4 separate regions of the Homo sapiens genome follow, and all the other regions are linked to region 1. Evidence: promoter capture Hi-C in 16 types of primary human blood cells and fetal thymus (Javierre and others, 2016). All regions are on one chromosome and are shown on one strand. Each heading gives the region's core, a stretch centred on a gene start or on the middle of the fragment in contact. The rest is flanking DNA. Distances are from core to core; before and after follow the strand shown. Region 1 holds the start of OR4K13 (olfactory receptor family 4 subfamily K member 13). Region 2 overlaps OR4K2 (olfactory receptor family 4 subfamily K member 2). Region 3 has its middle 20 kb from the start of OR4K5. Region 4 has its middle 25 kb from the start of OR4N5.

Region 1 (3,342 bases), core at 438-2,937:
CATGATGGTCATGTAATGGAGGGGTTTGCATATGGCAACATACCTGTCTATTGCCATGGCTACAAGCAACATCATCTCACTCCCACCCAGGAGGTGCATAAAGAACATCTGGGAATAACATCCCCACCATGAGATGGTCTTACGTTCTCGGAGGAAATCTACAATCATCTTAGGGGTAGCAAAAGAAGCCAGGATCATATCAATGCAGGAGAGGTTGCTAAGCAGAAAATACATTGGTGTGTGAAGGAGCGAATCAAAGGTCACAGTCACCAAGATGAGCAGGTTTCCTAACACAATCCCCACGAAGACCACAGAGAATCCCAAGAAGAATAAAATCTGAAGATTTTGAGATTTGGAAAGTCCCAACAAAATAAATTCCGATACCACTGAATGGTTTGCTCTTTCCATATCGTCAACTTTATCCCATAATGATCAAAATAAGTGAGAATAAGGGGTAGGGAAATGATGCATATTGGAAAGAAATGTTCATGTTGATGTCCACATTTGGTACTCAGTCAAGGCACTTGAACTTACAAGGACCCTTACTTTTGTGGAATTTTGTCAGTCAGTGATTTTACTAATGGCCCAGAGAAGTATCCCAAATAGTCAGTAGAATTCAGAATATAAGTTTCTGGAAGACAAAAATAAAAACATTAATAGTACATGAAACCACAAAACTATAGGTCATGAATTAGAATCAGAAGACCTCTACAGGACACCTGGGTAAGCTGCTCACTGGGTGACACAGGACAAGTAACTCTCCTTTTGAGGGTTTTCTTCTCAGTGAAAAAAAGAATTTGGACTATATGGTATCGAATGCCTCTTTCTGCTATAAAGATCTCTATGAATAAGATAATGATTCTGGTGAGTTTTATAGTCACAGAATAATATTGAGTTTTATTAATGTGGAAAGGATATCAAAAATACATCCAGGATTCTCAAGAACCATGTTTTGAAATGGACTCTGGTAAAGAAATATGAATTAGGTCCTGAGAAACTTACCTTATTTCCTCCATGCTCCATTCTTGCATGAATCCCTCACAGATCAGTATTAGCAGTAGTCACTACACACTTTTGAAGTGTCAAGTATATGTATAGTATATATATATTAAACATGTATATTACATACATTTCATATATTTATATATATTTATATAATTCGTTCATTCAACATTTCATATTATTCACATCAAATACCTCCTCTAGATGGTTAGACAATGTGTACAAACAACCCACAGTCAAATGTAATTGACTAATTTCACTTTCAGCTTGCATTCATTTATTCATTTACCTGGTTATTGCTATGTAGTGGTTAGCTGGTTGGCCTGTGTATGGTTGTCATAGGTTTCAAAATGACTTAGCTTGATGTAACATTTATGTTGGTAAAAGAAATACAGTTCTTTCAGTATAATCTAAATTTATGACAAAATTTGTCATCGGCTCATGCTTATTACAAACTGGTTCTATTGGTTCAGCTTTTAAAAAAATTGCCTCCGTTGCTAATAGTTTTAAATTAATCTAGGTCTTACAAAACACCTTCAGTAAATAAAGTATTTGTAGTCATCTTTTTGTGCTGTTATTACTTACAAGACAGGGGAAAAAAACTTTCGTGATGGCGTCGTACGTGAATCCCAGGAATGGCCTTTTATCTCCTTTTCCTGTATCCCCATCAGTTATCTGCAATTTACTCTTCCAATCATCAGAAACAGAAAAAATAGAGACCATAGTGCTATATGTTTCTATGAGATAATCCCATAGGAACACTTATCCAACTAGGGATGTATTTTTTTCCCTATGTAAACATATCTGTTGGCCAATTTCCCACTCTGAGAAACTTTGATGCAAAATATTAAATTTCATCAAATATGTAATTAGAGCCATTCATTTATATGTCTATAAAGGTAATAGCTCTCTTCAGTTTTATGACTAATATTTAAGAATTCCTACTAATGCTTCTTTTTGAAACCCAATTTTTGAAGCTGCATTTAAACAGAAGAGAACAATTTTCAAATACATACAAAGAAGTTTATAAATCCTCCACATCTGGAATAGTGCATATCAAAAACACTAAGTGAATATCTGTTGAATGAATAAACTATGTAGTGCATATTCAGGATCTAGATTAAGTCAGCTGACTTAATCCACAGAAAAATCCACAACATTAGGAATTTTAACAATATTTATTTTTAAATGTCAAATTGAATGTTGAAGTATTTTAAAATCAGAAATAGAACAGCCATTCTTAAAAAGCTGGTTAAAATATGTTTTTTTCTTTTAATTATCTTTTAAAAAAAAAGGTAGTTTATGCCAATGTGAAAAAAGCACATCACAGATAACAGAAAGACTGACTGAACATTTTAAGAGCTTCTTAGATAACTTTCCAGAAAAATAATACACACTTCAGTACAGTGTGTGTGTGTTAGTGTTACAGGTATTTATATTTATATCATTTTATTAAGACTGCAGATTATATATTATATGTATAGCTATTTTTCTTGAGTTTTTAACTTATTACATTTAAATATGTTTATATTAACATATAGAAACATAACTTTTTAATAGGTGTATAGAATTCCACTTTGTAGATGTTGCATAATGTAATCTCCCCACAAATACAGTTTATTCTTAGAATGAATTTAACATTACCTATAAAAATTATTTTTCATCATATCACTCTCTTCTTTATAAACCTGTGATAACTACCTTATCAATCCCTAACTTCTCCTGGATATTCATAATCAACTCCTCACCCACCCTAAAAATCCAATATTATTTTCTTTTTTTTTCTTTTTTTTTTTTTAATTATTATACTTTAAGATTTAGGGTACATGTGCACAATGTGCAGGTTAGTTACATATGTATACAAGTGCCCTGCTGGTGTGCTGTACCCACTAACTCGTCATCTAGCATTAGGTATCTCTCCCAATGCTATCCCTCCCCCCTTCCCCCACCCCACAACAGTCCCCAGAGTGTGACATTCCCCTTCCTGTGTCCATGTGTTCTCATTGTTCAATTCCCACCTATGAGTGAGAATATGCGGTGTTTGGTTTTTTGTTCTTGCGATAATTTACTGAGAATGATGATTTCCAATTTCATCCATGTCCCTACAAAGGACATGAACTCATCATTTTTTATGGCTGCATAGTATTCCATGGTGTATATGTGCCACATTTTCTTAATCCAGTCTATCATTGTTGGACATTTGGGTTGGTTCCAAGTCTTTGCTATTGTGAATAATGCCGCAATAAACATACGTGTGCATGTGTCTTTCTAGTAGCATGATTTATAGTCCTTTGGGTATAAACCCAGTAATGGGATGGCTGGGTCAAATGGTATTTCTAG
Region 2 (3,342 bases), core at 397-2,896, 160 kb before region 1:
TATTTTTTTCTTGAAATATTTGGATGTAAAAATAATGAATCTGCATTTAGTAATACATTGTCAATGTAATAAGTATGTTTTTGTACACAAATAGGTTTTATTACTGTTATAAATAAATCTGGTAGGTTCAATATTAGCTTTAATGTATACAAAGTATTACTACCACCTGCTGGTACTAACTGGAATTGCAAGTATTGAAAGAGGAAAAATAATTGTGTATACCCTACTTTGCAAATCATCTTTAAATGATGGCAAACATTCATGAGTTAACTCTTATTTAGAATTTTCTAAATGATATTGATAAAATATAGTGTCTTATATATGATCCAACATGTATCCACAAAGGGAAAGATATGTTGCAACCACAGTATTTGATAATATCAAGTTGTTATTTTCTGGTATGATTGAGTAAATGGAGAAAACAAATGAAATGCATTAATTATCATTTATGAAAGATAATTAAAACAGAAAATCCTTAGATGTTCATATTAAACCAAGTTATAAAAGGAATTTATTTTTTCTTCATCAGTTTGTGTTTTATTTCTTCATTAATGTACTAAGCAAATAAGGAAAAAACTTACAGCTTGAAAGTCTGTGATACTGTGTTTAAAGCCTGAGCAGTTTTGAAATTATTAGATAATAACGTCTACAGTATTAACATAAAATAAAACATGCTTCTGTAAGCACAAGATTAGCATAATTCTATTTTAAATAGGGATACAAATAGGCCAATTTAGGTTTTGAGTGTGAACTTTCTCTTGGTTGCAGTTATATGTACAAATATGTTCATATTCAAGGACTTCGTTTATGTAGAATGTTTTAGCTGGTGCTTAAAAATGCTAGAAATAATTCTTTTACTTGACATATTTCTTTGTCCAGGGAATATTTTCAAAACTGTGCTGCTTTTTGCAATATAAAACTGTGGAATCTTTTGGAAGAGACGCTATTGATTTTCTGTGCTTTTGTGGAGAATTCTAAAACTCAAGAACATTTGCCAAAATACCCTCAAAGGTGTAGCTGATCAGCAGACAACTCTATAAGGCAAGTCAATAATGAGATTAAGTAGTTGGATTGATAGTAAAATTCTGTGGCTGATAATAAAAAGGATTACAGAAAGCCTTTGGAGGGCTTACATATATAAATGGAACTATCACATTTCTCGGTGGCTTAGTGTGAGGAGTCAATATTCATGGTACCTCTGCATGTTATATAAACACTTAAAAATCTTAGTTAGGACTTTAGGACTCATGGTGGTTGGTTTTATCGATATATCTCTTAGACAAGATGCTGACACTCTTTCACCAAGGATAACTGCAGTGACATGGCCATGGACTCGTTAAGCAATAGTAAGGATGGTGCCAGCTGCCACCAGAGTTTCCAGAGACAGAGATAATGTTCTGCAGAGAATACAAGATAAGCAGGCAAGTATAATTTTAAGTGATCTGCACTATCTGCAATAACACAACTGAGGGAGTTCTGGAGCATTTATAAGAAGAGTGTGTTGACAAGCAACTTCATCTTCCTCTACGTGTTTAGGAAGCTGTGAAGCTTGACAACAATTGAATGCAGATGGAAAAACTGTTAAAAATCAGGTATAGATAAAAACAGATAAAGTGTAAATTTTAATATGTGAAGGAACTGGATATATGTAATAGCAATAAAAACTACAAATTATGTTTGTTTCTAAAAATGCTTAAGAAAACTTTTAGAATACTATATGGTATAATGATGGTGGATTTACCATAAAGCTTGTAAAGCTTAGGTTTTATAACTCCTCCTTTGCATGGATTTCCTCGAAGGCCCTAGAATGGAAACTAACAACCTTTTATTAGTTATTTCGATTTTTTTTTCCTGAAACAGGTGTCCTCAAACTGTATAAGCTTTAAGCCTAGCTTGTCCAACCCATGACCTGCAGGTTGCATGCGGCTCAGGAGATGGCTTTAAATTCAGCCCAACACAAATTCATAAGCTTTCTTGAAACATTATAAGATTTTCTTGTGATTTTTTTGTAAAGCTCATCAGCTATCTTTAGTATCAGTGTATTTTATGTGTGGCCCAACACAATTCTTCTTCCAATGTGGCCCAGAGAAGCCAAAACTTTGGACACCCCTGCATTAAAAGGCTCTGCAGAATCTGAAGTCTAATGTGTAGTTTTAAAAGTCTTAGACTCTGGTATCTTTTTTTTTTTTAAACAGTGTTTAATACTACTTCTACTACTAGTGGTGTAAACTTAAGCTAAGTACTTAATACCTCTTAGCCTCAGTTTCTACATATGTTAAAGGAGATAATAGTGGTCTCTACACCACAGAGTTATTTGAGGCATAAAAGAAGCAAATAATATGAAGCATATGGTTGTCAATAAATGTTAGTCATTGTATCATTCTGGGTGATAACCTCTGGATATCTTTGTTTATGGGACTTGATAGTCTCTTGAGCTAACACTTGACTTGTTTAATTTAAAAGGTAAATTTTCATTTATATGTTTTAAATATTCATGTCTGTATATGTGTGTCAGTATTAATTTGAAAAATTAAAAGTAACTTCCACTAGAAAATTACACTGGTTCTTACATTAATTAAAGCTTCTGGAAACTTGTTTTTCTGTCTGTTCACAACTGTCATTAATCAAGAGAAGTATCAAGTTGTTGCTTAATCATTATGCTATTGCTTCTTTACAATGAATAAATATTAAATTGGTTTATTGATTTTAGGATGAATTCACATTACAATTGTTGTCAGAATAAGAATGATGTTTGACTCATATTATTAAGGTGAAGAGATAGGCAGATGGATAGATTAGTAGATAGATGAAGTTTTGTATTATATGAGCTGTCTTATGTGAAGTATTTTTCTGCATTGATAAGGGTTTAGGATAATGTGATCACTGGATTATGCTGCTATATAGAAGTTCTTGGTAAAATGCTGTTATTTGTGCATATCCAGACTCCTTATGAAAGTATTTTCAAATTTAAAAAACTACCAGTGAATCTATTCTCTACATGTGAGTTTTTAAACAACTCAGTTATAGCAAAATTTGTTGAGAGAGTTGGAGTAATCCTCCTATTTCCCTATTCTTTCCCTGATATTATTTTGCATGATTTTTGGATGTATATGTCAATTGAAAAACGGGGAGAAGAAAACAGCCAGGGAAATCTAATTCATGTGAACTTCTTGCATGTACTCTCAGATGCCAATGAAATCCGCTAAGCAACTTGATAGTTTTTTGGTTTATAAGTTTCTGTTGTGCTTTGTTGTTTGGAATTATTTTTAATGCTCTTGGTTACACCATGAGGTAAATATGCACAAATTATTCTGGAGCGTGTAGGACCAACACTCAAATGAG
Region 3 (3,342 bases), core at 478-2,977, 140 kb before region 1:
TTTGGGTTGGTTCCAAGTCTTTGCTATTGTGAATAATGCCGCAATAAACATACGTGTGCATGTGTCTTTATAGCAACATGATTTATAGTCCTTTGGGTATATATGTAATATTTTTAAGCTAGATAAATCTTATGTACTCTAGATTTAAGCTATATTTGTTCTAGTTTTTAAACTTTGCACCTCTCACCAAATAACTTTTACCTCTTGACATACAGATACTGTTTTTTTTTTTCCCTCTGCTTAAAACTTCCTTGTCTAGAAACATAATCATACATTTAACCTGGCTAAATCTGACTCTCTTTATGTATAAGCAGAGACCTTCCACACATTTTTAAAATATAATAAAACCTTCCATACCACCCTCTACTTCCCCTATGAAAAAAAACAAGTATAATTTTACTTTAATTATTTGTCAAGGTATGTGCTTTCTGCCTTAGAATATAAATTCTATAAAGTCAGGACCTGCTATCTTGTACCTCAATGAATTTCCAACTCCTAGTTTAGTATATGTAAACTAGAGTTCCTTGATCATTCAATGAAGAAATGCAGTTATGTGCTGTTACAAAGTGATTTCAAATTAACCAGGCATTGAACACAAAAAGCTTGTAACAGGACAAGTAAGCCATGACAGAAGGCATAATTGTAGTTAAGAATAAAAGTTATTTTTTAAGCTTCCTAATTTGAACGTTTAAAATATATACAAAAGATGATAATGTGCTCACATGCTCCCATCTGTGTATTTATACCCAGGTTTCATAGTTATCAACATATGTCTAGTCTTTTCTTTTTTCCTATGGTTTCAAGTAAAATTGCTAAGTACAAGGGTCAATTGCACACATATTTTGTAGACATTGCCAAATACACTTCCTTTTTATTGCATTCTCATTTATATGAGAGTACCTCATATATATGAGTACCTCATAGACTTCTCAAGAGAGTACATTGAAATTTTAGATTTTTGTCAATGTAATATATGAAAAATTATATTTCAGTGTAGTTCTACTTTTAAACCAGAAGTTCTTAAAATTCCCCATCAAAACCCTCACAAAATTGCTCTTGGTTCCTGAGAAGAATGAGTAAGAGGATTGGCATGGTGAAGAAAGACTCTCTGTTCAGGCTTTCCTGTGCATTTTGCTGCTAAAGCATGGCTTTCTCAAAACACTGTTATAATAAACAGATGTTACCATTCTTTGCCCCCCCCCCTCAGAAAGTCAACAAACAAAATTCCTTGAGAATCCAAAAATTCTGTTGCCATAACCTTTGTTTTTGACTGGACAACTTTGATTGTACCAATACTATCTCTTGGTAGTCATTCTTTTGATTGTGCTGTGTCTTTGGGATCATACTGGTAAAGCCATGTTTCATGTTCTGTTACAATTCTTCAAAGAAATATTTCAGGATCTTGATCCCACTTGATATAGTTTGGATGTTTGTCCCCTCCAAATCTCATGTCTAAATGTGATTTCCAATGTTGGAGGTAGGGCTTGGTTGGAGGTGATTGAATCAGGAGGTGAGTCCCTCATGAATGTCTTAGTAGCATCCCCTTGATGATAAGTGAGTTTTCGTTCAGTGAGATCTGGTTGTTTAAGAATCTGAGACTCCTCTTTCTCTTTCTTGCTCCTGTTTTTGCCATGTGATGCACTTTCTCCCCACTTGTCCTCTGTCATGATTGTAAGCTCCTGAGGCCCTCATCAGAAGCAGATGCTGGCACCATTCTTCCTACCAGTTAAGGAACTGTGATCAATTAAGCCCCTTTTCTTTATAAATTACCCAGTCTCAGGTATTTCCTTATAGCAATTCAAGAATGACCTAATACAAAATTGGTAATGAGGAGTGGGACGTTGCTATAAGGATACTTGAAAATGTAGAAGTAGCTTTGGAACTGGATAATGGGCAAAGTTTGAAAAAGTTTGGAGGGCTCTGAAGAAGACAGGAAGATGAAGGAAAGTTTGGAACTTCTTAGAGACTGGTTAAATAGTTGTGACCAAGATACTAATAGAAATATGGACAGTGAAGACCACACTGATGAGGTCTCAGATAGAAATGAGAGTTTTGGGGAACTGGAGTAAAGGTCACTCATGTTACACCATAGCAAAGAACTTGTTTGCATTGTGTTCATGTTCTAGGGATCTGTGGAAGTTTTAACTTAAGAGTGATTACTTAGGGTATCTAATGGAAGAAATTTCTAAGTAGTAAAACATTCAAGATGTGGCCTGGTTGCTTATAACAGCCTATGGTCAGATATGAGAAAAAAGAAATAAATTTAGATGTATTTAAAAGGGAAGCAGAGTGTAAAACTCTGAAATATTTTTAGCCTGGACATGTGGCAGAGAAAGAATCCAATCCAAGCAGGCTGTAGGGCAATCACTTGCTAGAGAGACTAGCATGACTAAAGGGCAGCCAAGTGCCAATACTCAAGACAATGGGAAAAAGGCTCCAAATGTATTTATTTCAGAGATCTTGGAGACAGCCCCTCCCATCATAGGGACAGAGGCTTAGGAGGAAAGAACGATTTCAGGGGCCAGGCCCAAGATGGCACTGCTCTGCTCAGCCTCAAGACACTGCTCCCACATTCCGGCTGCTTCAGTTCCAGCCGCAGTTCAAAGGGTCCCAGGTACAGCTTGGGCTGCTCCTTCACAGGGTGCAAGCTGTAATCCTTGGTGCCTTCTATGTGGTGTTAATCCTGCATGTACACAGAAGAATACTGTGGCAAGGGTGAAAAAGGTTTGGCAGCTTCCACCTGTGTTTCAGGGGGTATATGAGGAAGCCTCTATTCCCAGGCAGAAGCTTGCCACAGGGGAGGAGACTTCACAGGGAACCTTTACCGGGGCAATGCTGAGGGGGCAATGTGGGGTTGGAGTCCCCACACAGAGTCCCCACTGGGGCACTGCCTAGTGGAGCTGTGGGAGGGGGGACACCACTCTCTAGACCCCAGAATGGTCAATTCACCTGCAGCTTGCACACTGTGCCTGGAAAAACCACAGGCACTTAACTCCAACTTGTGAGAGCAGCCATGGGGACTGCAACCTGCAAGGCTACATAGGCAGAGTTTCTCAAGGCCTTAAGAGTCCACCCTTTGCATCAATATGTTCTGGATGTGGGAAATGGAGTCAAAGGAGATTATTTTGGAGCTTTCATATTTAATGACTGCCCTGCTGGTTTTCAGACTTGCATGGGACCTATTATCCTTTTCTTTTAGCCAATTTTTCTCTTTCAGAATAGTAATGTTTACCTAATGCTTGTACTACTATTAGAGCTTGGGAGTAAATAACTTCTTTTGATTTTAGAGGCTCATAGGTGAAAGGAGATGAGTCTCAGATGAGACTTAAGACTTTGGATTTG
Region 4 (3,342 bases), core at 451-2,950, 130 kb after region 1:
GCTTATAAAACCATCAGATCTCATGAGGCTCACTTACTATCATGAGAACAGCATGGGGGAAACTGCCCCCCATGATTCAATTACCCCCACCTGGTCCTACCCTTGACACATGGGGATTACAATTCAAGGTGAGATTTGGGTGGGGACACAGACTCAAACCATATCATTGCATCCCTGGCCACGCCCAAATCTCATGTACTCACATTTCAAAACACAATCATGCTGTTTCAACAGTTCCTCAAAGTCTTAACTCTTTCCAGCATTAACCCAAAAGTCTAAGCCCAAAGTCTCATTTCAGACAAGACAAGTCCCTTCTGCCTGTGAGCCTGTAAAATCAAAAGCAAGTTACTTCCTAGATACAATGGGGATACAGGCATTGAATAAATACAGCCATTCCAAATGGGAGAAATGGGAGAAATTGGCCAAAACAAAGGGGCTAGAGGCCCCATACAAGTCCAAAATCCAATAGGGCAGTCATTAAACCTTAAAGTTCCAAAATATATCTCCTTTGACTTCATGTCTCACATCCAGGTCACAGTGATGCAACAGGTGGGCTCCCAAAGCCTTGAGCACATCTGCCCCTGTTTTCTTTTTTTTGTTTTGTTGATCCTCTGTACTATTTTTTGGACTGCATTTTATTTAGCACTGCTCTGATCTTTGTAATTTCTTTCCTTCTACTAATGTTGCACTTGCTTTGTTCTTGTTTTTCCAATTCCTTGAGGTATGACAGGTTATTAATTTGTAATTTTACTACACTTTTATATAAGCATTTAATGCTATAAGTCCCTCTTACCACTGCTTTTGCTGTATCCAACAGGCTTTGGTATATTGTGTTTCCATTTTTATTGGTTTTATAATTTTAAAAACATCTCTGTCTTAATTTTTTTCATTGACCCAATTCAGGAGCATGTTGCCTAATCTTTCATGTATTTGTTTAGTTTCCAAAGTTTCTCTTAGTATTGACTTCTAGTTTCATTCAACCGTGATTGAATAAAATATTAAGAACATACTTTGATATTATTTAATATTTTAAAATTTGTTGAGACTTGTTTTGTGACCCAACACATGGTCTATCTTGGAGAATGTTCCATGTGCTGATGAGATGTATATTTTGCAGTTGTTGGATAGAATGTTCTGTAAAAGTAGTTAAGCTTATTTGGTCTAATGTCCAATTTAAGTCCAATACTTCCTTGTTGATTTTCTGTCTCAATTATCTGTCTAGTGCTATGAGCAGGGCATTGAAGTCCCCCACTATTAGTGTATTACTGTCTATGTCTTCCTTTGGGTCTAGTAATATTTGTTTTATAAATCTGGGTTCTCCAATGTCGGGTACATATATATTTAGGACTGTTATATCTTCTTATTGAATTGATCCCTTTTTCACTATATAATGACCTGTAGTCTGTAGTGTTGCCAACTTGATTCTTTTCTCTTTCTTTCTCCATTGTGTGATTTTTCTATAAGACCTGAGGGTTTTATACTCTGTGTTCTCATGATGAAAAGTATTGTGCTTTTGTTTCCAAGTTTAGAACTTCTTCAACAATTTCCTGTAGGTCCAGTCTAGTGACAGATTCCTTCACCATTTGCCTGACTGGGAAATAATTTATTTCTCCTTCATTTATGAAGCTTGATCTTGTTGTATATAGAATTCTTGGCTAGCATGTTTTTTTTTCCTTTCAGCACTTTAGTTATGCCATCTCATTCTCTTCTGACCTGTAAGGTTTCTGCTGAAAAAATTGTTGTTGGTCTAAAGTGGCTTCCTTTTTAAGTGACAAGAAGCTTTTCTATTGCTGATTTTATAATTCTTTCTTTCATTTTGAGTTTAGACGGTCTAATGATTATATCGCATGGTGACAGATTGTGTGTGTGTGTGTGTGTGTGTGTGTGTGTGTGTGTGATGTATTCACTGGGGTTTGTTGGTACTCTGGGATCTGGATGTCTAAATCTCTTGCTAGACTTAGGAAGTTTTCATCTATTATTTTATAAACTGTATTTTCTAAGGCTTCATATCTTTCTTCCTCCTAAAGAATACCAGTAATTTGTACATTAGATTACTTTATGTAGTCCCAAATGTCTCAAAGGCTTTGTTTATTCTTTTTCTTCATTTTTTATCTAACTAGATTATTTCAAGAGACCTATCTTTGTGTTCTAAAATTATTTATTCTGCTTAGTCTAGCCTATTGTTGAAGGTTTCAAGTGTATTTTGTATGTCCTTCAATGAAGTTTTTAGTGCTAAAATATCCTTTTTTAATATTTATCTTTTTAAATTTCTCATTCATTTCCTAAATACATTTTCTGATTTCTTTGTATTGGTTTTCAGATTTATCTTACATCTCACTGAGTTTATTTAAAATCAATATTTTGAATTCTTGATATGGTATTTCTAGAATTTCTCTTTGGCTAGAATCTATTGCTGGAGAATTATTGTGTTCCTTTGAGCGTGTCATATAACCTTGCTTTTTAAAGTTTCCTGCATCTTTACATTGATTTTTGCACATCTGGAGTGATAGTCACTTCTTATTTTCAAATTTACTTTCACTGGGGAGGGTCCTTTTACTCAAAGACATGACTATGATGTTGCTTGGTTAGGGGCATTTGGTTTAGCTTCTTGGTACATACAGTAGTGAATATTCTGTATAATTTCTTTGGCTATAAATAGCATTAGTGGTATGTGTGCTTTCCTTGGCTTAATATGGTGCAGTGATTTGCGGGGCTGTGGTGAAGGTGTGCTGGGGAGGGGAATGCCAGATGGCCCTATCTTCAGATTTCAATGGTAAAGGTGTTGGGCTAAGTGGGTCTATTCTTGTAATCTAGAACAGTGTTTCCTCATGTCTGCTTGGCAGTTGCAGGCAGGCTGATTCTTGAGCCTCTGGACGGCTTTCTTGAATGCCAGTTGCAGTAGCAGCGTATTGGGTGGGTGAGTGGGCTCTGGACTTCCTTGGCAGCCAATGTGGCATGGGCAATGGCAGTAGCAGTGGACACAAGATGCTCTTCAAGTTCTTGAGTTCTGTGTTCTTGTGTTAGCAGTGGTTGCAATGGGTTGTATGGACTGGCCTCCAGGCCAGTAGGTGACACTTTCAGTTAAAAGTCAGCTGTACGGTATTGGTAGGACTTTGATGTCCTACCTCTGTTCCCCAAGAAAGGTGCTTCAGTGTCCCGGGTAGCATACTGGGGTGTGGAACACCCAGGAATCTGAATCCCACAATCTGTCTCAAGGGTGGGTGGGGCAGTGCTGGGATTGGGGTTCCCATTTCAAGTGCCAGCAGCTGGAGACCACGCCATGCTCACTTCTCAGGCTGAGTTATGAAAGCTCATTCCCTTCTCAAGCCCTGATTCTGCAAT

The links. The method cuts DNA at HindIII sites, captures the fragments that hold promoters and counts their contacts. A CHiCAGO score of 5 or more calls a contact.
Region 2: a fragment that was not itself captured here is called in contact with the fragment with the promoter of OR4K13 in region 1 in 6 of 17 cell types (M2 macrophages, total CD4 T cells, total CD8 T cells and 3 more); the score reaches 7.9 in M2 macrophages.
Region 3: a fragment that was not itself captured here is called in contact with the fragment with the promoter of OR4K13 in region 1 in 10 of 17 cell types (naive CD8 T cells, M2 macrophages, naive CD4 T cells and 7 more); the score reaches 9.6 in naive CD8 T cells.
Region 4: a fragment that was not itself captured here is called in contact with the fragment with the promoter of OR4K13 in region 1 in 9 of 17 cell types (M1 macrophages, M2 macrophages, total CD4 T cells and 6 more); the score reaches 10.6 in M1 macrophages.

What each region holds. Positions count from the first base shown.
Region 1 is chr14:20,034,351-20,037,692 of GRCh38, forward strand. It overlaps OR4K13 (olfactory receptor family 4 subfamily K member 13), which reads right to left and starts at 1,688. Exons shown (of 2, transcript NM_001004714.2): 1 at 1,588-1,688; 2 at 1-631. The coding sequence starts at 408. The HindIII fragment of the contact is 9,053 bases long and covers 1-3,342 here.
Region 2 is chr14:19,878,063-19,881,404 of GRCh38, forward strand. It overlaps OR4K2 (olfactory receptor family 4 subfamily K member 2), which reads left to right. Exons shown (of 2, transcript NM_001005501.2): 2 at 1-3,342. Among named protein-coding and RNA genes, the nearest start is that of OR4K2, 4.6 kb to the left of the region's middle. The HindIII fragment of the contact is 200 bases long and covers 1,547-1,746 here.
Region 3 is chr14:19,898,656-19,901,997 of GRCh38, forward strand. No RefSeq gene overlaps it. Among named protein-coding and RNA genes, the nearest start is that of OR4K5, 20 kb to the right of the region's middle. The HindIII fragment of the contact is 2,116 bases long and covers 670-2,785 here.
Region 4 is chr14:20,162,476-20,165,817 of GRCh38, forward strand. No RefSeq gene overlaps it. Among named protein-coding and RNA genes, the nearest start is that of OR4N5, 25 kb to the left of the region's middle. The HindIII fragment of the contact is 153 bases long and covers 1,625-1,777 here.